Linked DNA regions of Homo sapiens: region 1 is linked to region 2. Evidence: promoter capture Hi-C in human tissues and cell types (Jung and others, 2019). All regions are on one chromosome and are shown on one strand. Each heading gives the region's core, a stretch centred on a gene start or on the middle of the fragment in contact. The rest is flanking DNA. Distances are from core to core; before and after follow the strand shown.

What was found. Contacts are between HindIII fragments. The study calls those that stand out against the background at their distance.
Region 1: a contact is called between a fragment that was not itself captured here and the fragment with the promoter of PNPLA5 in region 2, in 2 of the 25 tissues and cell types used here (IMR-90 fibroblasts and mesendoderm cells).

The regions. Positions count from the first base shown.
Region 1 is chr22:44,478,565-44,482,781 of GRCh38, reverse strand. No RefSeq gene overlaps it. Among named protein-coding and RNA genes, the nearest start is that of RTL6, 18 kb to the left of the region's middle. The HindIII fragment of the contact is 4,944 bases long and covers 1-4,217 here.
Region 2 is chr22:43,890,236-43,894,810 of GRCh38, reverse strand. PNPLA5 (patatin like domain 5, triacylglycerol lipase) reads left to right here and starts at 2,798. Exons shown (of 9, transcript NM_138814.4): 1 at 2,798-3,123; 2 at 3,517-3,749. The coding sequence starts at 2,931. The HindIII fragment of the contact is 8,381 bases long and covers 1-4,575 here.

The DNA of each region.
Region 1 (4,217 bases), core at 1,072-3,571, 590 kb before region 2:
GCACTCAGAGGAGGGAAAGAGTTTGTAGGGGACTGAGATGACCTCCGCTAGGGTCTGGATTCCCACTTATTCCAGAGGGTCACAGTATCCCATATTCAGCCCATAGGAATTTGTTACTATTTTAGCCATTTGCTCCTTTTCTGTCTTTCCAGCAGCCCTATGTTTTCTCATGCTCTGCTAACAGCGCCACAATTCATGTGCCTTGTCTTATCTCTCCTCGATGGGGCTGGGCACTATTTGGAATTTACTTCCTTGTAATCTTAGCTCTCTCATGGGCTCAAGAAAAATTCCAGTTTTGTACCTTTACTCACCGTTAGGTTAGGAGTGGTGTTCTTTTGTGGCTTTCTACATGCTAAGCCTCAGCTGACTTTTTAAAAACAATTAAGAGGCTGGGCACGGTGGCTCACGCCTGTAATCCCAGCACTTTGGGAGGCCAAGGCAGGTGCATCACTTGAGGTCAGGAGTTTGAGACCAGCCTGGCCAACGTGGTGAAACCCCGTCTCTACTAAAAATACAAAATATTAGTTGAGTGTGGTGGTGGGTGCCTGTAATCCCAGCTACTTGGGAGGCTGAGGCAGGAGGATCCCTTGAACCCAGAAGGTGGAGGTTGCAGTCAGCTGAGATCACACCACTGCACTCCAGCCTGGGTGACAGAGAGAGACTCTCTCAAAAAAAAAAAAAAAAAAAAAAAGGCCAGTCGCGGTGGCTCATGCCTGTAATCCTAGCACTTTGGGAGGCCGAGACAGGTGGATCACGAGGTCAGGAGTTTGAGACCATCCTGACTAACACGGTGAAACCCCGTCTCTACTAAAAATACAAAAAATTAGCCGGGCGTGGTGGTGGGTGCCTGTAGTCCCAGCTACTCGGGAGGCTGAGGCAGGAGAATGGCGTGAACCCTGGAGGCGGAGTTTGCAGTGAGCCGAGATCGCGCCACTGCACTCCAGCCTGGGCGGGACTCTGTCTCAAGAAAAAAAAAAAAAAAGCAATACAGTATAACAACTATTTACATAGCATTGACATGGCATCAGGTATTATAAGTAATCTAGAGATGATTTAAAGTATACTGGAGGGTGTGTGTCAGTTATATGCAAATACTGCACCATTAAGTAAGGGACCTGAGCATCTTCAGATTCTGTGGGGGTGGAGGTGTGTCCTGGAACCAACCCTGCAGATACCAAGGGAAGATCGCACTGCATGTAAATACACATGCTCCGTTGAAGGTTGTACACACTCATGTGGCTGTGCAACTGCAGGGTCACTGTGGAGAGGAAGTGCTCTCTGACATTTGTCTCCTTCCAGTTTCAACCCTGTTCCACAATCAAGTTTTGTATTTTCCTTCAAACAGGTCTTATACATCTCTTGTTATAGCTACTTAGTTTAATTTTATCACATTTACCTTGACAGTCTCTATCTGACTCGTGCTGGGTTTTGTCCTTTTTTCCTGTGACTCTACTTCTCAATTATTCATGATCTAGCTAGATAAACATGTCCTTGGCAGATAAGAGTGTCTGTCTCTCCTGCTTGAGGAAGCTCACTCCCTCAACTTATTAAGTCTAATTGACTGGAATTTCTGGCACTGGGTACCAGAGATGGGAAATAGCATTTTTTTCCCAGATAAGCTACTTCTGCTTTAATCATTTGGGGAGGGAACAGAAACCTGTCCATTTCATGGAGATTTTCTAATTGATCAGCATAGAACCGTGCGTAGTTTCATCTCAGGCTTTGAGAATCCTCTCTGCATTGATCACACCCTCTTTCTTCTGCTTAATTTAATCTGTTTTCTTTTTTTTATTGATTAGATTTGTCAGAGACTAACTGTTGAACTTATTTATTTTTAAAGCATCAGCTGTTGGTTTAAAGTATTCTCTCAGTTTTCTTTCTTATTCATTAATTTCTCATTACAGTTTCACCATTTCTTCTTCCAATGCCAGCAGCTCCTAATAAGTGAGGAAGGAGCCACATTTTAATTTACACATTACAAAATACGCTTCTTAGATTGTCACCGGTGTCAGTAAGAAACCGTGTTCCACAGCAATGAAACCTGGGAAGTAATGGATTAAGTAAATTTCCCTGCTTCTTTTTTTTTTTTTTTTTCCTGAGAAATTTTCTCAGAATGTGAAAAGGGCCAATGTCCATTTAGGATGTCTAAGGAAATTTAGCTTAAGTTCCTCTTAAACTAGTTAATTAGAATATGCTTCTCTGTCTTCTTTTTTTTTTTTTTTTGAGACAGATTCTTGTGCTATTGCTCAGGCTGGAGTGCAGTGGCGTGATCTCGGCTCACTGCAAGCTCTGCCTCCCCAGTTCAGGCCATTCTGTTGGCTCAGCCTCCCAAGTACCTGGGACTACAGGCGCCACCATGCCCGGCTAATATTTTGTATTTTTAGTAGAGACGGGGTTTCACTGTGTTAGCCAGGATGGTCTCGAACTCCTGACCTTGTGATCCGCCCACCTCGGCCTCCCAAAGTGCTGGGATTACAGACATGAGCCACCCCGCCCAGCCGCTTCTCTGGTCTTCTTTTAGGCCTAAGATGCCTCAGAATTCATGCTGGGAAATGCATTCCACACGGTCGATTGTTACTTTTGATATGGCCAGTTTTCGCTCGTGTCTCTCTGTGTCTCTGTCTCTGTCTCTCTCTCCTTCTCTCTCTCTCTTTCCCCCAAACCTATCTGAGATCATCTTGGATCCATGTCTGCCACGTCCAGGTATCATCCAGATGTTTGAGAAACGTCTCTTCTAGCATAATGATGATGATGATGGTGATTATGGTGATAATGATGATGGTGATGATGGCGATGATGATAATGATGATGGTGATGATGGTGATGATGGTGATGTTGATGATGGTGATGATGGTGATGATGATGATGGTGATGGTGGTGATGATGGTGATGGTGATGATGGTGGTGATGACACTCCTGTATAGCCTCTGATGGTTTACAGAGTTTGTAATACGTAGGCTGCTCAAGTTACACAGTTCAAAGGAGGGGGTAATAACAGCACTTCACTCAAGAGGTTTATTGCAAATGCTCAGGAAGTGTTTGGCTCAGTGTGAAGTGCCCAGTGGGTTACATAGGAAGTGAATGACTGTGAGGGGTGGAGCCCAGATTCAAACCCAAGCAGTGTGGCTCCAAGATCATGCTTTCCTCATTTTTAGAACAGAATTGTAGCCTTCTACTCATTATCTTTCCTTAAATGGACCCTCATGCAAGTCTAACATGTGTGTGGCTGAGTAATCGTTAAAGCATTAATTAGCATTTTTTAATCATGTATTTTTTCTCCTATCTCTCAGGTGAGCACTGTGCAGTCAAGCTTCTTTTTTTTTCTTTTTCTTTTTTTTGAAATGAAGTCTAATTTTCTCACCCAGGCTGGAGTGCAGTGTCACGATCTCGGCTCACTGCAACCTCCGCCTCTCGGGTTCAAGGGATTCTCCTACCTCAACCTCCCAAGTAGCTAGGATTACAGGCACCCACCACCATGTCCAGCTAATTTTTGTGTTTTTAGTAGAGACGGGGTTTCACCATGTTGGCCAGGCTGGTCTCAAACTCCTGACCTCAGGCCATTCACCTGCCTCAGCTCCCCAAAGTGCTGGGATTAGAGGCGTGAGCCATGTAATCCCACTGAGTCTGGCTCAGTCAGGCTTCTCTAGTTACAGGTAGAAGGGAAGGGTGTGGTGGGCAAGAGGCAGAAAATTCCCAGGAACACTTTCTGGCTTTTGTTCAAAATCCAAGTTCAGAGAGAGAAGAGGCTTCCCCTGGTAGAAGAAGAGTGATTGGGAAGAAACAAGAAGGGAATTAGGAAACCCATACACTGGAAAGACATTCCCCAGGAGGGAAGGTGAGGACAGAACTGAGAGCAGAGGGGTCCTGAGCCCTGTCACCAGGCAGAGCTCCTGCAGGGGGTGGATTTCGCGAGACGCGCTTTGTGGCCCTTCAAGTGATGACGGGCTACAGAGTTCAGACCCACCATTTCTCTGAAGATAAGGAAACAGATGCACAGAAGATTTTAAGATCTTCCTAGAAACATCGAAGAGTGACGAGATAGTGAGTAAAATCCGAGAAGGAAATTCAGAAAGGTGAAGCCTGCATTTGGGGCGCCTTCTCCCCAGAGAGCATTAGCTGATCTGGAAGAGGAAAGTCAGAGGCCAGGCAGCACTTTTGACAGCCTCACAGGGTGACGGGGACAATCACTGGTGTCCAGAGCCTGCCAAGCAAGGCTG
Region 2 (4,575 bases), core at 1,549-4,048:
AGAGCGACCTACGAAGCATTTCCAGCATCCAAGAAGCCCCCAAGCCCCTCCCAGTCACCTCTTCCTGTAGCAGGGAGTTTGGGAGACTAAGAATGTAAGTGCAGGGCCCTAGGACGGACCCACCTGTTGCCCCCTATTGCCTTGAAGAACCTGCAAGGGGCCTCCAGTGCTCTGTGGAAGCAAACCTCACTTCCTTTTGGAGACACTACCGTGCAAGACTGGCCTCAGGGTGGCCCAGTACGTTTGGTTATGCTTGCTTTGGATTTAGGGAGGTATAATAGAATTAGCATTATTTCCAAGAATGGGAAGCCCAGAGGCCTGGACAATATGGCAAAGGACCGGGTGGACCAGGTGCATCTTCCTTGACACCAGCTCGCCCACAACTGTCCTGTGGATGGCCAGGTCAGGCAGACACCGAGAGGGTAGGAGACTTGCTGAGGGTCACACAGCCAGCAAGCCTGAACTCCCGACATCTTCCCTTGCAGGCTCCTGGCCTTCCTGCAACCTCCCAAGCCACCCCAGAAGTGAGCCTGCCTTGGTTCAGCTGCTGGTTCCAGGGCAGCTCCCTGAGAAGATGGTGCTGCTGGGGAAGGCCGTGCTTCTGGACACTTTCTGCTAGACTTGCCACCAGCCCCATCATTCTGGTGATGCCACCAGCCAGACTGTTTTCCCACTTGATGTTGACCAGTCACCCACCCTGAGCTCTGTGCTGCCTGCTGTCTCTGGGGGGCCTCAGACAGCCCACACCAAAATGCAAGACCCAATTCCTGAAGCATCAAGCACGCAGAAACTCAGCCTGGCTCCAGGCCTTACGCTTCCTCCCACAGCCCCGCACCACCTGCCCTCACCGCCATGACTGCTCTCTCCCGCTGGCTGGCTTCTCACTCCTCCCTACTCCTCCCTGCCTGGTGCCTTTGCTCAAACTCTTCCCTCTGTGCCCATCTCCCTTTCTCCCCGTGGTGAACCCTTGATCGACCTCCAAGGTCCTGCTCAAACCTTGCTTTTTCTCCGAAACCTCCGGAACATGTCCCTGCTGAACTCCCAGCCCCTGAACTCCTCCCTTCCTGAACTCACACTGGTGGTCCACTGTTCCAGGGAGGCTCAGTCTGCCTCCGGCACAGTCACAACTGTGGGTGAAATGTTCCTGGCTGTGCCTGCTGTGACCTGGTTCCCTCCTGGAGCAGAGTCAGCACATGGCTTCTAATTACCCCCTGCAGCTGGGGCTGGGTCCTTCCCGCAATGGAGATAGCCTGGGGTACCTGCCACCAGGTGGGTGAGTCTGTGCAGGCCCATGGTCTTTGAGGCAAGGATGCCGCCCCTGGTGTGGGATCAGCAAAGCCCGGTACCGCCCACCTCTGTGGGAGGGGAGGCTGGGCTGGCCTGTCCCAGGGTGCCTTCTGCACCCAGTGCCCATGGGCAAGCTGCCCTTCACTCCCAGGTCAAGGAAGAGGTAGGTGTGAGGCTAAGAGAAGCAGATCCTCCCACCTCTTCCTCCGAAAATGACCCACCCAGGCCATGGGCTGAGCATTCAGTCCACAAACACTGTGCCACACTTCTTCCAGGCACAGATGGAGGACCTGGCCCTCAAGGAGCTCACATGAGAAGGCACTGATATGTGCCATGTGATTAAAGCAGTAACACAGGGATGGGCGCAGTGGCTCCTGCCTGTAATCCCAGCACTTTGGGAGGCTGAGGTGGGCAGATCATCTGAGGCCAGGAGTTCGAGACCAGCCTGAGCAGCATGGTGAAACCCTGTCTCTACCGAAAATAACAAAAATTAGCTGGGCGTGGTGGTGCGTGCCTGTAGTCCCAGCTACTTGGGAGGCTGAGGCAGGATAATTGCTTGAACCTGGGAGGTGGTGGTTGCAGTAAGCCGAGATTGTGCCACTGCACCCCAGCCTGGGTGACAGAGTGAGACTCTGCCTCAAAATTAAATAAATAAATAAATAACATAGCGGTTGCCATTGATTGTGCGCCACTTGATTAAAACAATCACCGTAGTAACCATTGTTTGTGTGCTTATCCAGTGCCGGGCGCTATTCCAAACACGTTACTTGCATTAACTCTAATCCTTACCGGTCCTATGGAGTAAGTAATGTTATTATCCCCACTTGATGGATGAGAAAACTGAGGCACAGATCAGTTAAATTATCCAGGGTCACCAGCCAAGACATTCTGGAGCCAGAATTGGAGCCCAGACAGCCCTAATCACTACAAACCCAAGTTCTTGGAGCTTTGCAGTTTATAAAGCACTTTCCAATGGATTGATTAGGGGAGGAGGGAGGAGGTGGGATGTTTGAGCAGGCTGTAGTGGTAGGTGAGGCTTGGAGAGCGGGTGAGCCAGGGGAAGGTGCAGTGGTGCTGGCTGGAGCGGAGGCTGGCCCCGAGACCTCTCTTTCCCTCAAGTCCCTCCCTGGAACCAGCACAGCTGCGGACTTAAGCCTGGTTTGACCCCAAAGACCAGGTGTCCTGGGTCCGACTCTGCCACTTCCTGGCTGTCACCATCCTGGGCTGCGCCTCAGTTGCCTCATTTGCGTAATGAGGACTGGAATAACATCTGCCCAGACTACCAGAGATCAGGCAAGATTTGGTCCCACTCCCCTGCCGTGTCACCCAGAAATCTATGACCCGATGCGGATCCGGGGCGGGCGCGTGGGGGCGGCGCCAGCGTATACACAGCGCGCGGGCACTTCTGGGGCACACCTGGCGCACAACTGGAGTGGGGGCTGATCGCGACCCGGGGACTTCATTGGCTGGGGCGCAGGTGACGCAGCCCGGGGGCGGCGCAGGGAGCACCAGCACCAGCCCCAGCCCGGCTCCCTCCAGAGCCCACATTTGGGCCCAGCCCCGTCCAAGGCTGCATCCCGGCCCTATCCCGGGTCACGGAGTGACCCTTCCTCGTCCCGATCACCCCGCCCGGTCCACCCGCCATGGGCTTCTTAGAGGAGGAGGGCAGATGGAACCTGTCCTTCTCCGGCGCCGGCTACCTGGGCGCCCACCACGTGGGCGCCACCGAATGCCTGCGCCAGCGAGCCCCGCGCCTCCTCCAGGGCGCCCGCCGCATCTACGGTTCCTCGTCTGGGGCGCTCAACGCAGTCAGCATCGTCTGCGGCAAGTCGGTCGGTGAGTCCCGGACCGCGGGGGCGAAAAGGGGCGGGGACAGCTTAATGAAAGCGGATCGAGCCCAGAGACGCTGGTGCCTGGCGCTGTGCTCTGCGCCCTCTACCCCCGGCACAGCCTCATTTAATCCCATGAGAACACCGAGTGCTGGGGACTAGGTGACCCCCATTTGCAGAGGAGGGATCGTGGCTCAGAGCCAGAAACTCTGTTTCCCAGGTCGGCGGGGCAAAAAGTGAAAAGGTGAACGGATCATTTGAATCCGGGGCCGAGCCCAGAAATTCTGAGCTGGAGTGGGGAGGACCCCGCTCCCACTGCACCTAGGAGGGCAGTGGGGGTGTGGAGGGACTGGCAGGATCCCTGGGCGCTGAGGTCTCCCTTTCCCTGCCCCCACTGCAGACTTCTGCTGCTCCCACCTCCTGGGCATGGTTGGGCAGTTGGAGCGGCTGAGCCTAAGCATCCTGCACCCGGCCTACGCGCCCATCGAGCACGTCAAGCAGCAGCTGCAGGATGCTCTGCCCCCCGACGCCCACGTCCTGGCCTCCCAGCGGCTGGGCATTTCGCTGACCCGCTGGCCTGACGGACGCAACTTCTTGGTCACTGACTTCGCCACCTGCGATGAGCTCATCCAGGTGTGGGGCGGGGGGTGCCCAGGGCTTGGCTGGTGGGCGGGCTCCATCTAGTCCAGAGTGACATCCAGGTACTTCCCCGTCAGACGTTTCTGCAGGGGCGGAAGGAGGGAGGGCGGGTGGACCTGTTTGTAGGTGAGGAAACTGAGGCCCAGAGAGGGTCGGCAGGGTGGGTCTGGAGACTTTCCAGGTTGCTGCACACAGAAGGGTCTGGCTGGGGCCCGGCAGAGTCAGGCTGCTGAGTCAGGGCCCCCACAGGGACTGCTCTTTCCAGAGGGCAGCTGGCTAGCCCCAGCCTCCACCCCACTCCATCCTCCCGCCGCTTTTTGGCGGTGGGTTGACATTTATTGAACACCTATTATGTGCCAGTCACTATTCTAGGCACTGTGACTGTAACAGGGAGCAAAACAGACAGAAACCCTTGCCTTCCTGGGGCTTCTATGCTCAGTGGTTCTGGGGGGCAGGCGGTATCGATAATGAACTCATCTCCAAGTAAGGAGGTAAGGAACCATCCAGTATTGAAATGAAATAGGATGTCTAAAAAAGATGCTTCACATACACCCTGACACTATTATTTGCCAATAGTGTGTACGCGCACGCTCAAGTGCAGGCACACAGTGTGACAACCAAAAATGTCTCTGACATTGTTAGGTGTCCTGTAGGGGAGAAAATCACTCCTAGTTGAGAACCACCAACCCAGAGCTTGCAAACTTTTGAATATAGGACTTTGTCTCATGGAACCCTTGGAAACGTCCCAACTCTCTCTGGGAGGTGCAGAACCCATCCTGGCCCTGACCAGATGGAGATGCAGGTGACAGTTTTGTTCCCA